2 separate regions of the Homo sapiens genome follow, and region 2 is linked to region 1. The links are contacts of gene promoters, found by promoter capture Hi-C in human tissues and cell types (Jung and others, 2019). All regions are on one chromosome and are shown on one strand. Each heading gives the region's core, a stretch centred on a gene start or on the middle of the fragment in contact. The rest is flanking DNA. Distances are from core to core; before and after follow the strand shown.

Region 1 (3,272 bases), core at 328-2,827:
AAAAAGCTTCCATGAAGACAGGCTGGGCACGGTGGCTAAGGCCGCTAATCCCAGCACTTTGGGAGGCTGAGGCGGGAGGATCGCTTGAGCCCCAGAGTTCGAGACCAGCCTGGTTAACAGGATCTCTTTTACAAAGAGATCCCATCTCTTAAAAAAAAAAAAAAAAAAGGCTTCCATGAAGATGAATTAAGCAAACAAAAGCTGATACTGCTTCTGCATGCTAACCATGTAATTTAACGGACACAAGAAATGTTAAAATATCATTTGAATCAACTATCGATTCACAAGAAAAAATATAGCAGGTTCTTAAAAGTCAAAAGCCTCAGCCGACAGCCCTGTGGAATTTTCAACAGATCTCCCCACTCCCCACCCCCACCCCGCTTCCAGCCGAAAAGCCGATCCAGGCAAGAGGAAGACACCCAGCCTTTGTGCTATTTCCTGTCCTCTCCCCCACCTTCGGGCCTTCGGAATATCGCAAACCGGGCCCCGAAACTCGGCGCGGCGGCGGCCGCCCCACAAAGGCAGCGGTGGGAGCGCCATCTTGGCGCGGCCACCGGGCCCATTCATTCGCGGGGCCGGGCCGGGGTCCGCGCAACCCTCGAGTCGACACGCGCGGGGCGCCAGCGCCGGACAGACCCGGGCCTCGGCAGGAGAAGGGCGAGGCCACAGCGCGACTGCCTCAGCGGCTCGACACAGCGAAAAGGGCCGAAACCGTTATTTTCCCATTTCCCGACGCCGCGCCCGGCTTCCGCTTTAAATCCCTACTCCGACCGCGGCGCGCGGCCCGGCTTCCCCATTTCATTGTTCCCCTTCCCCACGCTCGCGCCCCGCGGCCGCCCGGCCCTCAAAGTCACCCCGATAGGCGGCCCGCGCGGGGGCTCCGGCCGCCGACACCGCCCCGCCTGCAGGCCCGCCCGGCCTTTGTTCTCGCGCCGCGGGCCCGAGAGCCACGTCCGGCTCCCCACGCAGGGCCCGGCCCCGCCCGACCCGCGCCCCCGGGGCCCCGGCCGCCGCCACGGGAAGCGCCCGCGGCGCACACAACCCCGCACCCCGGTGCCGAAACTCGGCCCCCAGCCTTGGGCCTGGGACCCCGGCTCCTCTCCCTAGACCCCGCCCTCGACCCCGACCCTGCACCCCGAACCTCGGACCCCAGCCCCCGGCCCCCCCTTCGGACGCCGCCCGCCGCACCCGGGCGGGGCAGGAAGACGCGGCCCCGACCGGCGGGTGGGGTGGGGGCGGGGCGGGCGCCCCCAGGGCGGGCGGGTGGACGAACAGGACCCGGGTCCGGGGCTGGGGGCTGCCGCGCTCACCTCAGCGCCCTCGTCGCGGCCTGACGCGCCCACACCGCCGCCTCGGCCGCCGCTCGGCAGGTCGTCGCGCTCGGGCCGCGCTGCGCGCTCCGCGGGCGCTGCGGGCAGGTGCGCGCCGGCGAGGCTCGGTCCAGTCCCGCCGCGGCGGCTGCTCCACTCCCGGCCCCGCTCCCCACTCGCCGCCCGCTCCCGCTCCCGCCGCCGCCGCCGCCGCCTCCGTCCGCCCCTCAGACGCCTCCAGCCATCGGGATGGGCGCGGCGGGCCCCTGCCCGCAGCCTCGGAAAACCCCACGCGCTCGCGTCACCACGCACGCCGCGCGTCGCGCGCGCTCGCCAGGCCCGACGGGCACGCGCACGCCTGTGCGCGTCCAAACCGCATCGGGCCCCGAGCGCGTGTCCGAGCGGCTTAAAGGGGCCGTGCTGCTGCCTTCGGGTACCGCTGCCCCGGGAGACCCCCGGCGGCCCGGCCCTGCGGGGACCGGGCGGGATGGGGACCGGGGCAGTGGACCCTCGGAGTTGGGATGGGGCGGGGGGAACGCGGGCGTGGAGCCCTCCGGGGACAGGGTAAGGTTGGGTAACCGTGGGCGGGGGCTCCTCCAGGGGCGGGGGTGGGGTAACGGCGGGCGGGGGGCACTCAAGCGACAGGGCAGGGGCGGGAAGGCCGCGGGCGGGGGCGGTCCCTCCGGGGACGGGGCGGGTGGGGGCACCGCGGGCGAGATCGCTTCCTGCAGAGGAGGCAACAGGCCCCGCTAGCAGGTCAGGGTCCCGGGCAGGCGCAGGTGCCCCCCGGCCTCTCAAGCAGGGACTGCGGCGAGCTCAGACGCGGCTGACGGGCAGAGACTCGCGCTTGGGCTCAGTGCGTGTGAAGTGGGCCTCGGGCTGCGGAGGAGGGCAGCACCCCGTGGCTCCTCGCGCTGCTGCGAGCAGGGCCGCCTGGCAGGGGCGGGGGCCGGTGGGCGGGAGTGTCGGGGTAAGGCCGCGGACTCCTCCCATGCCGCTGAGCAGTGGACAGCGGGGACTGGAGACCTCCAGGTGAGGAAGGGGAACGAAGTCAAGAAGGCCACATGTCCTGGCTTCCAGGCTTGGTGTCCTCAGAAGCCTCCAGAACGTCCATGGAACCCGCCCCTGCGCCCACCGCCTCCTGCTGTCTTTCCAGCTGAGTTCCGGCTGCCCCTCACCCTCGGCTTCTTCACTCTGCCTCTCCCCAGCCAGCGCCCTGCTCCCCGGTCCTCAACCACCACCTTCCACCTGCCTGGGCCTTCATCGCCTCCGAGCTCCCCTTCCACACCAAACCTGGCGTCCGTTTTCCTCCAGGCCTGCACCAGCACAGCTGAAGGGGAGAGAGACCCAACCTCATCCACTGGGCCTCCCCTCAACCAGGGCCACAACCTCAAGGGGCCATGCCACCTCCAACACCTATTTCCCACCTTCTACTCTCTCCACACCCTGGGACACCACCCGCCTCTCTCAGCTGACGTTTTCCTTCTTGTTTTGTGTGCATGGTGCTTGTGTGAGAAAGTGGACACACAGTAAGTGCGGCTTCCAGATGCGTCCGCCACCTGCCCTCCGTGCCACGCGCTTCCCCCTACCTAGGGGAGCCTCCACCAGACAGGGAACCCACGCCTTGCCACCCTTCTCTCTCCCTCCCACTTCACCTGTCCGCATCATTTCTGGAGCCCTTTCTTTCTGGCACGAGATGCTCCAGGGCCCTGTTGTATTCTCCCTGCCCCAGCCTGAACCCAGCTATTTCTGCTGCAGCCTGGTTCATTGTGGGAGAATGTCATGCAGAGCCCGGGATCTGGCTCCGGATGTGCTCATTGCTACTGGGGTGTCATTGCAGCTGGCGGAGCAAGGGAACACATCTATGTACATGCCCACACGCATATGTATACACACAGTTTCATGGGCGTGTTTGTCTGTTTTTCTTGGGCACCACGTGTTTACTCTGATGCCAGGCCAACA
Region 2 (3,090 bases), core at 518-3,017, 510 kb after region 1:
TAGCTGTTTTAAAAATTGAAAGCCAACCCTAGCAGAAGGTACATTTTGTGGCAGGGTCAGTACAGAAGTTACAGGACCTGCTTCATGCTTTTGGACTCTTGTCTTTCTAGATTTATCAGTCCTGGCTAGACAAGTCCACACCCTACACGGCTGTGCGATGGGTCGTGACACTGGGCCTGAGCTTTGTCTACATGATTCGAGTTTACCTGCTGCAGGTAGGTGTGGGCTGAAGTGACGAGACTTGGCTCTGTCCACGTTACCTGGGCGTGATGTTTGTGGGGATGTTGTTGATCCAGTCTGTCTTGCAGGAAGTGGTCTCTAGTAATCAATTTTCAGCTAAACGCCAAATGTCAGAAAGATCTCAGTGACTGTCTTTAACGAACAGGGTTGTTTATGATTCACCCGGAGTCGCCTCGCCAGGCTTCTCAGTATACCCAGGCCGTCCTGAGCCCAGCCTGGCCCTGCCCTGGGCACGTCCAGGCCTGGACAGTGGAGCCGCTGGTGTCCCTCCGACCCTGCTGCATGATGCTCAGGACAAGGTTGCGCTCTGTGGCTGCCTCATTCCTTGGGTGAAGAGTCCATGCCTTGGGTGTCATGAATGACTCGGCGTCCAAAGGGTTTATGTAGCTTTTCCTGAGCTCTCCCTTGTGTGAGGCCAAAGCACAGTGCAGGTTGAGACGCCGAGTCAAGTAAGAGAGACAGTGACCGAAGGGGGTCTTGAGGGTTTCCTTCGTGTGTTTTCGGGCACCCCTAGGTCAGGTGATGTCGTCTCAGACTTCACCTGGGTGCTCCTTTACTTGCTGGTAAACACGGGGTTTCTAGGAGCAAACCTGTAAGATGGGAATTCTTCGTCGGTCTTTAGAGGAGGTTACATAATCTTATGTGCAGAGCAGGGCATGTTGAAAGCCTTGTCTGGGCTATTTTCTCCTCTGGGGACTGTAGAAGATACTTCCTTGTTTAAAGCACACACCTTAATTTATTTATTTATTTTTGTTTTTAAATTGGAACTGGGTCCATTCTCTGATGGAAAGAATGACCTAGAAATCTTGAATCAGGGACTTCAGGCAGGAGCAGGGGGCGGGAAGAGTGCAGCACCCACAGGTCAGTTTTATTGCGTTCGAAACCAAGCTCGTGCCTCATTTGGCGTCTCTTCAGGTGTGGCCCTGCAGCCGAGGATGGACACACAGACATCAGTTAGCCCTCACATCCGGCGTTCAGCCGAGGATGGACACACAGACATCAGTTAGCCCTCACATCCGGCGTTCAGCCAGGGATGGACACACAGACATCAGTTAGCCCTCACATCTGGCGTTCAGCCGTCTGACTGGAAAAGCTTTTAGGCAGAAAGACTTCTTGTTTGTATAAGAAAGTTAAAGCATTTATATTTTTATTTATTGTTTTGAGATGGGGTCTCACTCTGTCGCCCAGGCTGGAGTGCAGTGGCCTGATCTTGGCTCACTGCAACCTCCACCTCCTGGGTTCAAGTGATTCTCTTACTTCAGCTTCCCGAGCAGCTGGGATCACAGGCATGTGCCACCATGCCTGGCTAATTTTTGTATTTTTAGTAGAGACGAGGTTTCACCATGTTGGCCAGGCTGGTCTTGAACTCCTGACCTCAGGTGATCCACCCGCCTTGGCCTCCCAAAGTGCTGGGATTGCAGGCGTGAGCCACCACACCCGACAGAAATTTAAGGCTTTTGAAATTGAGAATGCGGTTCTGGCTTTTAACGGGATATGCTTAATCATTTTAAAAAATGAATTAGTTGCAAATAAGTGTGCTGCACTCAGGCATCTTGCCAAAATTCTCCCCACTTTTCATCTCTTGAGGAAGGCTTGGCATAAGCACACTTTTCTGGATTTCCCAGTTGTGGATTTCTTCTGGGCAAAGGTTTAACCCTCCTGGCAGAGTGTTTTTGGCAATGTGAATTGTCTGTTGGAGGAACATCAGCCAGCACGCCTCCAGTCACAGTTGAGAGTCTGTCTTCTGTTTCTGATGAAGCTGCTCCTGGGTGGGGCTCTGGGCCAGCATCGCTCAGGTGCCCGGGCCACCCGAGCCTGTGGTGTAGCTTGAGCATGTGCTTCTTGAGAAAAGCCTCCTTTTCTGCTGCGCTCCTTGTGGGGCGTCTGTGGCTTCAGGGATCACATGTGTCTAACTGGACCCTTGAAGAGCTTTGCTCATTTGGGCCCTTGCTTGTCCGCTTTGTCTCTGTTCCCACAGAGTATAATTTGAGATAAATTGTTACCATGGGATTTCACTGTATTTCCTTGTCCTTGCTATGAGTAAGTTTTGTGTTAAAACAAAGTTAGATCAGTTAACAAAGTTGAGAGTGAACCGGAGTGCAAACGTGAACTGGCTCAGGCTGATGGACGGTCAGAGTGCACCACTGACTCTCTTTCCTTCTCTTTCAGGGTTGGTACATTGTGACCTATGCCTTGGGGATCTACCATCTAAATCTTTTCATAGCTTTTCTTTCTCCCAAAGTGGATCCTTCCTTAATGGAAGACTCAGGTAGGGTAGCGGCTGTGCACTGGGCTGTGTGGGCAGGTTGGGCCTTTCTTTTCTGATGGGATTGCCCAGTGTTCTCTGGAAACACCCGAGACTCTTCTCTTGGGGTTGAAATGTACTTGTAATGTTGGGTGATCAGGATATGTTTGTAGAATGACTCTTCAAACCCTCCTGACAGCCACGAAGTGGGTGTTCATTCTGTTTTCCCACTTTGCAGATGAGGAAACTGAGGCATACAGGGTTAGGTAACGTGTTCGAGGTCACATGGCACCACAGACAGTAGGGGTCTGAGGTGGACAGTCCGACTCCAGCCCCCGTCCCACCCCAGTCAGTGGTCCCTCTCAGAATCAGCGGAGGCAGCCATGACGAGGTTACCTTTTCCCGTAGCCAGAGGGTTCCACAGGCAGCTCACTGTGGTGCACAGAGACCGCCGGGACTCTAATGCCAGCATCGGGTCGGGTCAGGCTTTGGGCGGCCTTCTCTGGTTTCTGAGGAGCTGTGAGCTGAAGTGTTCCTGGTGCTTCGTGCTCCACTATTGGAAGACTTACGCAGCTCCTGGGCCTGCCTGGGCCAGGTAGGGGCCC

Evidence for each region. The method cuts DNA at HindIII sites, captures the fragments that hold promoters and counts their contacts. A contact is called where the count stands out against the background at its distance.
Region 2: a fragment that was not itself captured here is called in contact with the fragment with the promoter of GNB1 in region 1 in 1 of the 25 tissues and cell types used here (heart right ventricle).

Annotation. Positions count from the first base shown.
Region 1 is chr1:1,889,510-1,892,781 of GRCh38, forward strand. GNB1 (G protein subunit beta 1) reads right to left here and starts at 1,578. Exons shown (of 12, transcript NM_002074.5): 1 at 1,311-1,578. It overlaps GNB1-DT (GNB1 divergent transcript), which reads left to right and starts at 1,671. Exons shown (of 2, transcript NR_168264.1): 1 at 1,671-1,874; 2 at 2,391-3,217. RefSeq lists silencers at 893-1,082, 1,643-1,832, 1,953-2,052, 2,113-2,362. The HindIII fragment of the contact is 12,240 bases long and covers 1-3,272 here.
Region 2 is chr1:2,397,006-2,400,095 of GRCh38, forward strand. RER1 (retention in endoplasmic reticulum sorting receptor 1) reads left to right here. Exons shown (of 7, transcript NM_007033.5): 3 at 111-215; 4 at 2,410-2,509. Among named protein-coding and RNA genes, the nearest start is that of RER1, 6.7 kb to the left of the region's middle. The HindIII fragment of the contact is 8,492 bases long and covers 1-3,090 here.